Regions from separate parts of the Homo sapiens genome. Here regions 1, 2 and 3 are each linked to region 4. The links are contacts of gene promoters, found by promoter capture Hi-C in human tissues and cell types (Jung and others, 2019). All regions are on one chromosome and are shown on one strand. Each heading gives the region's core, a stretch centred on a gene start or on the middle of the fragment in contact. The rest is flanking DNA. Distances are from core to core; before and after follow the strand shown.

What was found. Contacts are between HindIII fragments. The study calls those that stand out against the background at their distance.
Region 1: a contact is called between a fragment that was not itself captured here and the fragment with the promoter of BIRC5 in region 4, in 2 of the 25 tissues and cell types used here (dorsolateral prefrontal cortex and spleen).
Region 2: a contact is called between a fragment that was not itself captured here and the fragment with the promoter of BIRC5 in region 4, in 2 of the 25 tissues and cell types used here (dorsolateral prefrontal cortex and spleen).
Region 3: a contact is called between the fragment with the promoter of LGALS3BP here and the fragment with the promoter of BIRC5 in region 4, in 1 of the 25 tissues and cell types used here (spleen).

What each region holds. Positions count from the first base shown.
Region 1 is chr17:78,727,074-78,729,773 of GRCh38, forward strand. The region is part of intron 1 of CYTH1 (cytohesin 1); the gene reads right to left. Among named protein-coding and RNA genes, the nearest start is that of CYTH1, 54 kb to the right of the region's middle. The HindIII fragment of the contact is 3,980 bases long and covers 1-2,700 here.
Region 2 is chr17:78,827,675-78,830,374 of GRCh38, forward strand. USP36 (ubiquitin specific peptidase 36) reads right to left here. Exons shown (of 21, transcript NM_001385174.1): 5 at 1,223-1,333. Among named protein-coding and RNA genes, the nearest start is that of USP36, 12 kb to the right of the region's middle. The HindIII fragment of the contact is 3,104 bases long and covers 1-2,700 here.
Region 3 is chr17:78,978,666-78,981,365 of GRCh38, forward strand. LGALS3BP (galectin 3 binding protein) reads right to left here and starts at 1,258. Exons shown (of 6, transcript NM_005567.4): 1 at 1,159-1,258. RefSeq lists an enhancer at 1,292-2,284. The HindIII fragment of the contact is 8,620 bases long and covers 1-2,700 here.
Region 4 is chr17:78,212,741-78,215,631 of GRCh38, forward strand. It overlaps BIRC5 (baculoviral IAP repeat containing 5), which reads left to right and starts at 1,513. Exons shown (of 4, transcript NM_001168.3): 1 at 1,513-1,687; 2 at 1,940-2,049. The coding sequence starts at 1,577. RefSeq lists an enhancer at 1,258-2,159. The HindIII fragment of the contact is 20,243 bases long and covers 1-2,891 here.

The DNA of each region.
Region 1 (2,700 bases), core at 38-2,537, 510 kb after region 4:
TAAAGCGGAAAATGAGGCACAAGGAATACATTCAAATCTCGCAGTTTCATCAGCATCCCAAACCCACGAATTCACAATGCTGCTCAAAGGTCCTCTCTGCCCATGAGGCGTCCCCAAACCCCAAATCACCTGGGCCACAGGCTCCAAGCACCACAGACATGATAAGCATAAAGCTTTTAGGCGAGTCAGCATTCTCAATCTCCCCTCCTTCTGTGTCCCATGAAAACAGAGGCCTGGGGTTTTTTTTACTTTTTTCTTTAAATTCTATTCCACTCCTTACACTTAAAAATGCCTCATTATTCTTTAGTAAATGCTAGGAGCATAAAATCTTCTTCAAAGAAGCAAAAACTGGCATCTGTTCCTGCTCTGAGAAGTCCTTGAAGATCTCTTGAAAGGAAGGTCATTTCTACCTGCACCTCAAAATAGAAACAAACTGGCTCCCTGTTCCAGACATCACCCTTACCAGAGTTGCCCCGAGTCCGGGTTTGCAAAAGTTTGGGAGAGGTGTAAGAAGGAGCTGACTAGGGCACCAGCCTTCCAAGTCGCGGGAAGGTCCAGGATACTGGCCCCCTGCCTCCACCTACCAGCAGGGCAAGGCTGGAGCAGGCACGGCCGACCCAAGCCTCCTGGCGAGTGCATCCTTCTGGTGCCAACTCAGTGTGTTAGGAGGGCAGGCTTCTTCTTCTCTGTCTTGGCTGCTCTCATGAGGCTGCTCTTGGACCGTCCCCTATCTCCTGCCCATGCAGGGGGCAGAACTGTAGGAGGAAGAAAGACGAGACCTATGGCAGGGGCAGCCAAGGAGAGCAGTGAGGAGGAGCAGAAGGCAGGCCAAGCTCTGCACCTTTGAGATCCAGGGCAGCACACCCACTCCAGAACTAGCTGAAGAGGTGCTGACCCATGAGAGGGCAGTGAGTCCCTGATATCATGCAGGTGTCCTATGGCCTCCCTCCACGACAAATGGATGCCCACCTCTAGGTGGCACGATATAGTCAGTTTCTCTGGACAAACTCTATTCTACCCCAAACACTGGTAAATCCTCCCCAAGCCAGGCTGGTTCCTGCAGCAGGGCCAGCCTCTCATCTAGACAGGAAAAAGAAACATGGAAAACAAAGGGGACCTGAGCAAAGGTAGAAAGACCCCAGTAATCAAAGTTCTCGTACATACACCACGATGTTTAAAAACATTATTTACGCCGGGTGCAGTGGCTCACTCCTGTAATTCCAGCACTTTTGGGGGCCGAGGTGGGTGGATCACTTGAGGTCAGGAGTTTGAGACCAGCCTGACCAACATGGTGAAACCCCATCTCTACTAAAAATACAAAATTAGCCAGGTGTGGTGGCACATGCCTGTAATCCCTGCTACTTGGGAGGCTGGTATTACAAGAGAATCACTTGAACCAGGGAGGCAGAGGTTGCAGTGAGCCAAGACCACGCCATTGCACTCCAGCCTGGGTAATGAGAGCGAAACTCCATCTCAAAAAAAAAAAAATTATTTACATTACCAACATGATGTTTACAGAAATATAATAAAAAGGATATTAAACTTCACATGGGAAAAAATATATATGACAATAGTCAGAAAAATATGAAAGGGAGAAAGGGTAACGTGAGGGTGTAGCTACCTGAGATTAAAGCACGTGAGGCTTTGGTAATTGAAACTGCAACGGAAGAAAAAGACCAGAAAACAAACTCAAGAAATACTGAAACACACACGTAGCACTTTGAATCGGTAAAGAAAAATAGGATTATTCAGTCAAGGGTGCTGAGCAAATAAATAGCCAGCTAGCCATTTGGGATAAAACTAAGCTGAAATGAATTCTAGCTTAATCAAAGATGTTAATGTAAAATAAAACCTGAATAATTCTAGAATAGAGCATGAATTAGTATAGTCATAATATTGGTGAGTCTGCTCATTTGCGACATGAAAATGAAAAGCTTCTGAGTGAAAAATAATATCCCATAAGCTAAAAGGTAAACAACTAGGACAATAAATTCACAAAACATATGACAAAGGGTTAATATCTTTTTTTAAATTAATTAACTTATTATTTTTAGAGAGAGGGTCTCACTCTGTACCCAGGCTGGAGTGCAGTGGTGTGATCATAGCTCACTGCAGCCTCAAACTCCTGGCCTCAAGCGATACTCCCACCTCAGCCTCCAGAATAGCTGGGACTATAAGTATGTGCCACACCTGGCTAGGGTTAATTTATTTAAGTCACAAAGAAAGCAGCATAAAAATTAGTAAAGCAAAGATGAATACAATGAGCAAAGGATATAAAAGACAGATTACAAAAAGAGAAATACAAATGGTCACACAGAAGAAGATGCTCACAGTCACTATGTGTTTAATGCAAATTAAAACATGAATAACATACCATTTTCCATTAGTCTGGCAGGAATCAGAATGCCAGATGAGACGAAATACTGTCAGGGGAGTGGGCTACACAGGCAGTCTCCCGTGCTGCTGGGAGAGTGTAAACTGGTACAACCTTTTGGCACTAGCAAAACATAAAGAGCACACACCTTTTGATTTGATTTGAATCAAACTTATGAATTTGATTCTTAAATTCCACTTAAGAGTGGATATGCTCCCCAAATTCCAAAAATTTTAAACTACCTAAAAACTACTTGGTAATTTAAAAGAATGAGGTGATTTGTAAATGCTAACATGAAAAGATCTCTAAGACACATCTGGTGAAAC
Region 2 (2,700 bases), core at 187-2,686, 610 kb after region 4:
GGAGGATCACTTGAGCCCAGGAGTTCGAGGGCAGCCTGGGTAACATAGGGAGACTTCATCTCTACCAAAATAAAAAATAAAAAAATTAGCCAGGCATGATGGCATGTGCCTGTAGTCCCAGCTACTTAGGTGGCTGAGGCAGGAGGATGGGTTGAGCCTAGGAGGTTGAGGCTGCAGTGAGCTATGATCTCACCACTGCAATCTCCAGCCTGGGCAATAGAGCAAGACTCTATCTCAGAAAGAAAAAGAATAAAGAATGTAAAATCCGGCAGGATGCAATGGCTTATGCCTGTAATCCCAACACTTTGGAAGGCCAAGGCAGGAGGATCGCTTGGAGCTGGGAGTTGGAGACCAGCCTGGGCAACATGGCCAGACCCCATCTCTACAAACAATACAAAAACAGTCAAGTGTGGTGCGCCTGTAATCCCAGCTACTCAGAAGGCCAAGGCCGACTGCTTGAGTCCAAGAGTTTGAGGCTGCAGCGAGCTGTGATTGCACCACTGTCCTCCAGCCTAGGTATAAGAGCAAAACCCTGTCTCAAACAAAAAGAATGTAAAATCCATTGAATATCTCTCCAAAAGCCAATATAAAACACAGGTGAGTAAGTATTTCACAGTGCTACAATTTACACAGATTTCAAAAACCGGTAATAGGCCTCTTCTTTCTGCCAAGTGAATGTGAATGAGACTTTTTTATAGCATAGGCAACTGATTCCTGATATTCAGAATGGAATTGGTACATTCCTCATCCATCCCTCCTCCCAGCTCTCCCTCAGGCCCACCTGCCTGCCCCAAATACACAATAACTCCTCCACCTGCCCAAAGGAAAAGCTACCTGTCCTGACCTGCCCCCACTAAGAGGCTTCCCCACTGACCCCAGCCCACATGTCTCTAAACTGCTATTCCTTGAGTCTGCACCACCACATGCAGGGCTGTTAGCACAGAGGGATTCCCAAGACTTCATCCATGACTCACTCTTCTCTCCCTTCTACCAACTCCCCAGCACCTCCTACAGGGCGAGCACTTAGCAGGCCTTCAGTAACAGATGGAGAATGGCACAGTGGCTCGTGTCTGTAATCCCAACACTTTGGCAGGCCAAAACGGAAGGACTGCTTAAGGCCAGGAATTTAAGACCAGCCTGGGCAACATAGCGAGAACCCCATCTCTACAAAAAATTAAAAAATAAATAAATCACAAAAATTTTAACATGGATTGATGCTTACTTTTCAGGTCTCGGATGAAGGAGACGGGCTTGATGGCGTTGCCGCTGTTGGCGAAGGCCTGGACAATGTGGTTCTGCATGACACACAGCATGCAGAAGCTTCCCTGGTGGCCTGCCGGCGTGGAAGGAGGAGCAATTTTAAGACAAGAGCTTTCAAAGAACTCACGGTGAGGCCCCCACCCCAAACGTTAACACAGCCAGAAACACAAGCAGGTAAGAGCAAACCAGGCTGTGAGAGAACGGCTGAGCCAGAGATCCCAGACCTCTGCTGACTGGGTGACCACCAAGGAAATGTTATTCTCTGCTGGATGGCGTTTGGAAGCTATGATCCATCCAAAGCTGAAACTCTCACCATCACAACCTCACACCATCACCCCACATTAATGCTGACCTGTGCATGATCCTTTTCAGATTTCACTAGTATTATTTACTTATAAAAAGACTAAGGCAGATTTTCAAAATGAAGCTTAAACGATGTATTCTCGAATTTCTAAGCTGCATCACATGGTAAATAGGCTAAAATATTTTAGGGCTGACAGCCCCTTAGTAGTGCCTCAGATATGGGACCGTCTGTTCCACTGGTTCTAGTAAACACCTCGCTAGGATACATCTGGGGTTGAAAATGTTTTCTGGGAAGATCCAGATAGCAAATCCTTTCCTATCTGAGGGCTATACAGTCTAGTCACAACTATGCTCCTGTATTGTAGAGGAGGCAGCCATAGACAATATATGAACAATGGGGTATGAACGTGTTCAATAAAACTTTATTTACACACACAGAGAGCAGGCCAGATGAGTCTGCCCACCCCTGCGCTACATAAAACGCCTCACTAGGCATTAGGCTAGACAGTGGTCCTTTTTTTTTGAGACAGAGTCTCACTGTCACCCAGGCTGGAGTGCAGTGGCACAATCTTGGCTCACTGCAACCTCCGCCTGCCGGGTTTAAGCAATTCTCCTGCCTCAGCCTCCCAAGTGGCTGGGACTACAGGCTCGTGCCACCATGCCAGGCTAATTTTTTGTATTTTAGTAGAGACAGAGTTTCACCATGCTGGCCAGGCTGGTCTCGAACTCCTGACCTTGTGATCCACCTGCCTCAGCCTCCCAAAGTGCTGGGATTACAGGCGTGAGCCATCGAGCCCAGCCCCGACAGTGGTACATTTTTACCTTTCAAATTATGATGTAAATAAACACTGCTGTGATCGCCGAACTCCCCTCAATCTCTCTCAACCCCATTTTCCATGTACCTTCATTCAAAGTCACCACTATCCTGAATTAGGCAATTATCGTTCTCATTCATGTATTATCACACACATGTGTATCCATGAACAATAAATGGCACTGTAGCTACATGTTTCCAAACTTCCTTTCTATAAATCGTATCATGCAGTTACGTATCATTCAGCAATGGCTTTACAAAAATCCATGTTGCTAGACATAGCTCCAGTTCCTTCAAATCTTCCAGCTAGAATATTTCACTGA
Region 3 (2,700 bases), core at 8-2,507, 770 kb after region 4:
CGCCGGTATGGGTGGACGCCCTCTCCACTTCTGCCCCCAGCCACTTCACTCTGCTGCAGCCACTAGGTTTGTCCGTCCTGGGAGAGTAACTCAGGGCCTTGGAAAAATGGCCAACTGGCCAGGCGCGATGGCTCACGCCTGTAATCCCAGAACTTTGGGAGGCTGGGGCAGGTGGATCACTTGAGGTCAGGAGTTCAAGACCAGCCTGGCCAACATGGTGAAACCCCGGCTCTACTAAAAATACAAAATAATAATAATAATAAGCTGGGCATGGTGGTGTGCACCTGTAGTCCCAGCTACTCAGGAGGCTGAGGCAACAGAATTGCTTGAATCCGGCAGGCAGAGATTGTAGTGAGCCGCTGCACTCCAGCCTGGGTGACAGAGCAAGACTCTGTCTCAAAAAAAAAAGGGGGGGGGGCAACGAAGCACCTGGCAGGTGGCGTCGCTGCCCTTTGTGTGGCAGCGGCTATTTTTGCCTGATTCCTTCATACAGTTGAGACCCGGCTGCCTGTGTTGGCCCCTTCGTGCAAATCAGAAAAAAAGGTGCTCTTCCTTGGAGTGGGTGCAGGCCTAGGCCAAATGCACAGGTCTGAGAGAGGGCCAAGCTGAATTCTAACCCACTTGCCCTTTGGCTGGTATCCTTGTGCAGTGAGTAATCTGCCCAACTGTACACAGAGGCCCTGTGGGCCTGGGAGCAGCAATGATTGTTGCTGGACTCAGGAGCCCTGGATCCCCAGCTCCAGGCCTATGTGCAAACAGGGAGGCATGACCCCCACTTGCCTGTGTAGAGAGAGGGGTGCCCTGGCCGGGCGCGGTGGCTCACACCTGTAATCCCTACACTTTGGGAGGCCGAGGCGGGTGGATCACCAGAGGTCAGGAGTTTGAGACCAGCCTGGCCAAGATGGCGAAACCCTGTCTCTACTAAAAATACAAAAATTAGCTGGGCGTGGTGGCACGCGCCTGTAATCCCAGCTACTTGGGAGGCCGAGGCAGGAGAATCGTTTGAACCCAGGAGGCAGAGGCTGCAGTGAGCGGACATTGCATCACTGTACTCCAGCCTGGGTGACAGAGTGAGACCCTGTCTCAAAAAAAATAAAAATAAAAAAGAGAGAGAGACTGAGAGGGGTGCCCACCTGAGAGCTAGAGGCAGGAGCTTACCTGGCTGCGGTAGCTGCAACGGCCGTGTGGAGCCTCCTCGCTTCCAGCCACAGGATCCCTCTGCAGACTGGTCCTTTGACCCAGAAGCCTCTCCCAGTATGGAGCGTGGTCAGGCTGATCCCAGGAAATGCTTCAGAAAAGAGTCTACTTTCGATTTCCAGAAACCACCTGACATAGATGTCTTCCGGGATTGGCTGCTGCTGATACTCCCCAGGGCCCCTCTCTTTTGTCTCAGCTCTGCCTGTGGCTATCAGTGCCAGGCTGGCAGAGGCCCAAGGTGGGAGTCTGGCTGGAGCAAGGCCTGCAAGAGGACTAACAGCCACACTCAGTTGGAAAGGCCGCCAGGCTGGTCAGGGGCTGGCGTTTGGTGGACGGGAGGGGAAGAAGCAGAGGCTCTGGGCCCAGACAGTCTGCACCTGGTGGTGTGGCTGTGGACTCTGACAGAGCGCTCCGAGTCTTTTCCTGGGTCTAGCACGTTGCTGGCTGGGTGAACACCACACAGGGGGCTGCTTATGTGCAAATCCACCCTCTCTGTGCTCTTGGCATGCTGACCACACAGAGGGCCTGTGCCCCACAAGGTTGCATGGCACTGTCCCCTGTCCCCAGGGGAGGGAGGCACTGAGAACCAGGTATGCAGCTGGCCAGTGGAGGAGCTGGACCCTGCTCCAACACCTGACCCCAGAGCCTGTGCTCGCCACTGCTGGACCTGTGGCCACTCTCCTACTGTCTCCCCCTCAGCGGGGCGGGGGACAGAGCCTCTCTGGGTGACATAATGGCTCTGTCCAGCTCATACCCATTCCCTTTCCTCCCACTGAAAGCCGGCACCTCAACTGTCCCTTGGGGAGCACCCCCTCCCATTCCCGGCTGTGTGGTTCCCAGAGGGCCCCCAGCTCTTGGCCTTCAACCACCCAAGGCCTGGCTGTCTGAGCCCTGCGGGGGCCCCGGGCCACACTGCTGGTTTCAGGGTGGGGCTGTGAGCCCAGCCAGCCGGTGAGAGCCAGCTTCTGACTGAGAGGATGTGGGCCCAGGCTGCTGGGGCCGGTGGGGCAGAGCAGAGGGAAGCAGGCATCCTCCGGCCTGAGCTCCTGGGTCCAGCTGGCCTAATCCATGGTCAAGGCTGGGCTTCACCGCTCAGTGAGGCAATCAGCAGCCGCTCTTGTTTCTGTCACTTGCACCCCATGGTTCTGGATGAGCCTTGGGATGTGCCCAGGCCTCTGACCAGTGGTTCTCAGCCTGGGCTGGACAGAAGAATCATCAGGGAGTTTTACAAACTCCTAATGCCTAGACCCAGGAAGTCACCATCTCTGGGAGTAGGGGACAGGCAGGGGCATTTAAAAGCCCCCAGGCAGTCCCACTGGGTGGAAGGCCCTGGTTCCCTGGCAGCTTAGAGTCCGAGACAGCCAGCCCAGAGGTCAGACATTCAATGACTATTTCCTTCAAGGTGTGAGGTTTTAGGCAGCTGCACGGTTTGCCTAATCCCCTCCAGAGGAACTGTGAAGATCCAGGGGCAGGTGCAGCTGGAAATAGAACTGGCTGTGGGGA
Region 4 (2,891 bases), core at 263-2,762:
AAGAAGCAGAGAGTGAATGTTAAAGGAAACAGGCAAAACATAAACAGAAAATCTGGGTGAAGGGTATATGAGTATTCTTTGTACTATTCTTGCAATTATCTTTTATTTAAATTGACATCGGGCCGGGCGCAGTGGCTCACATCTGTAATCCCAGCACTTTGGGAGGCCGAGGCAGGCAGATCACTTGAGGTCAGGAGTTTGAGACCAGCCTGGCAAACATGGTGAAACCCCATCTCTACTAAAAATACAAAAATTAGCCTGGTGTGGTGGTGCATGCCTTTAATCTCAGCTACTCGGGAGGCTGAGGCAGGAGAATCGCTTGAACCCGTGGCGGGGAGGAGGTTGCAGTGAGCTGAGATCATGCCACTGCACTCCAGCCTGGGCGATAGAGCGAGACTCAGTTTCAAATAAATAAATAAACATCAAAATAAAAAGTTACTGTATTAAAGAATGGGGGCGGGGTGGGAGGGGTGGGGAGAGGTTGCAAAAATAAATAAATAAATAAATAAACCCCAAAATGAAAAAGACAGTGGAGGCACCAGGCCTGCGTGGGGCTGGAGGGCTAATAAGGCCAGGCCTCTTATCTCTGGCCATAGAACCAGAGAAGTGAGTGGATGTGATGCCCAGCTCCAGAAGTGACTCCAGAACACCCTGTTCCAAAGCAGAGGACACACTGATTTTTTTTTTAATAGGCTGCAGGACTTACTGTTGGTGGGACGCCCTGCTTTGCGAAGGGAAAGGAGGAGTTTGCCCTGAGCACAGGCCCCCACCCTCCACTGGGCTTTCCCCAGCTCCCTTGTCTTCTTATCACGGTAGTGGCCCAGTCCCTGGCCCCTGACTCCAGAAGGTGGCCCTCCTGGAAACCCAGGTCGTGCAGTCAACGATGTACTCGCCGGGACAGCGATGTCTGCTGCACTCCATCCCTCCCCTGTTCATTTGTCCTTCATGCCCGTCTGGAGTAGATGCTTTTTGCAGAGGTGGCACCCTGTAAAGCTCTCCTGTCTGACTTTTTTTTTTTTTTTAGACTGAGTTTTGCTCTTGTTGCCTAGGCTGGAGTGCAATGGCACAATCTCAGCTCACTGCACCCTCTGCCTCCCGGGTTCAAGCGATTCTCCTGCCTCAGCCTCCCGAGTAGTTGGGATTACAGGCATGCACCACCACGCCCAGCTAATTTTTGTATTTTTAGTAGAGACAAGGTTTCACCGTGATGGCCAGGCTGGTCTTGAACTCCAGGACTCAAGTGATGCTCCTGCCTAGGCCTCTCAAAGTGTTGGGATTACAGGCGTGAGCCACTGCACCCGGCCTGCACGCGTTCTTTGAAAGCAGTCGAGGGGGCGCTAGGTGTGGGCAGGGACGAGCTGGCGCGGCGTCGCTGGGTGCACCGCGACCACGGGCAGAGCCACGCGGCGGGAGGACTACAACTCCCGGCACACCCCGCGCCGCCCCGCCTCTACTCCCAGAAGGCCGCGGGGGGTGGACCGCCTAAGAGGGCGTGCGCTCCCGACATGCCCCGCGGCGCGCCATTAACCGCCAGATTTGAATCGCGGGACCCGTTGGCAGAGGTGGCGGCGGCGGCATGGGTGCCCCGACGTTGCCCCCTGCCTGGCAGCCCTTTCTCAAGGACCACCGCATCTCTACATTCAAGAACTGGCCCTTCTTGGAGGGCTGCGCCTGCACCCCGGAGCGGGTGAGACTGCCCGGCCTCCTGGGGTCCCCCACGCCCGCCTTGCCCTGTCCCTAGCGAGGCCACTGTGACTGGGCCTCGGGGGTACAAGCCGCCCTCCCCTCCCCGTCCTGTCCCCAGCGAGGCCACTGTGGCTGGGCCCCTTGGGTCCAGGCCGGCCTCCCCTCCCTGCTTTGTCCCCATCGAGGCCTTTGTGGCTGGGCCTCGGGGTTCCGGGCTGCCACGTCCACTCACGAGCTGTGCTGTCCCTTGCAGATGGCCGAGGCTGGCTTCATCCACTGCCCCACTGAGAACGAGCCAGACTTGGCCCAGTGTTTCTTCTGCTTCAAGGAGCTGGAAGGCTGGGAGCCAGATGACGACCCCATGTAAGTCTTCTCTGGCCAGCCTCGATGGGCTTTGTTTTGAACTGAGTTGTCAAAAGATTTGAGTTGCAAAGACACTTAGTATGGGAGGGTTGCTTTCCACCCTCATTGCTTCTTAAACAGCTGTTGTGAACGGATACCTCTCTATATGCTGGTGCCTTGGTGATGCTTACAACCTAATTAAATCTCATTTGACCAAAATGCCTTGGGGTGGACGTAAGATGCCTGATGCCTTTCATGTTCAACAGAATACATCAGCAGACCCTGTTGTTGTGAACTCCCAGGAACGTCCAAGTGCTTTTTTTGAGATTTTTTAAAAAACAGTTTAATTGAAATATAACCTACACAGCACAAAAATTACCCTTTGAAAGTGTGCACTTCACACTTTCGGAGGCTGAGGCGGGCGGATCACCTGAGGTCAGGAGTTCAAGACCTGCCTGGCCAACTTGGCGAAACCCCGTCTCTACTAAAAATACAAAAATTAGCCGGGCATGGTAGCGCACGCCCGTAATCCCAGCTACTCGGGAGGCTAAGGCAGGAGAATCGCTTGAACCTGGGAGGCGGAGGTTGCAGTGAGCCGAGATTGTGCCAATGCACTCCAGCCTCGGCGACAGAGCGAGACTCCGTCATAAAAATAAAAAATTGAAAAAAAAAAAAGAAAGAAAGCATATACTTCAGTGTTGTTCTGGATTTTTTTCTTCAAGATGCCTAGTTAATGACAATGAAATTCTGTACTCGGATGGTATCTGTCTTTCCACACTGTAATGCCATATTCTTTTCTCACCTTTTTTTCTGTCGGATTCAGTTGCTTCCACAGCTTTAATTTTTTTCCCCTGGAGAATCAC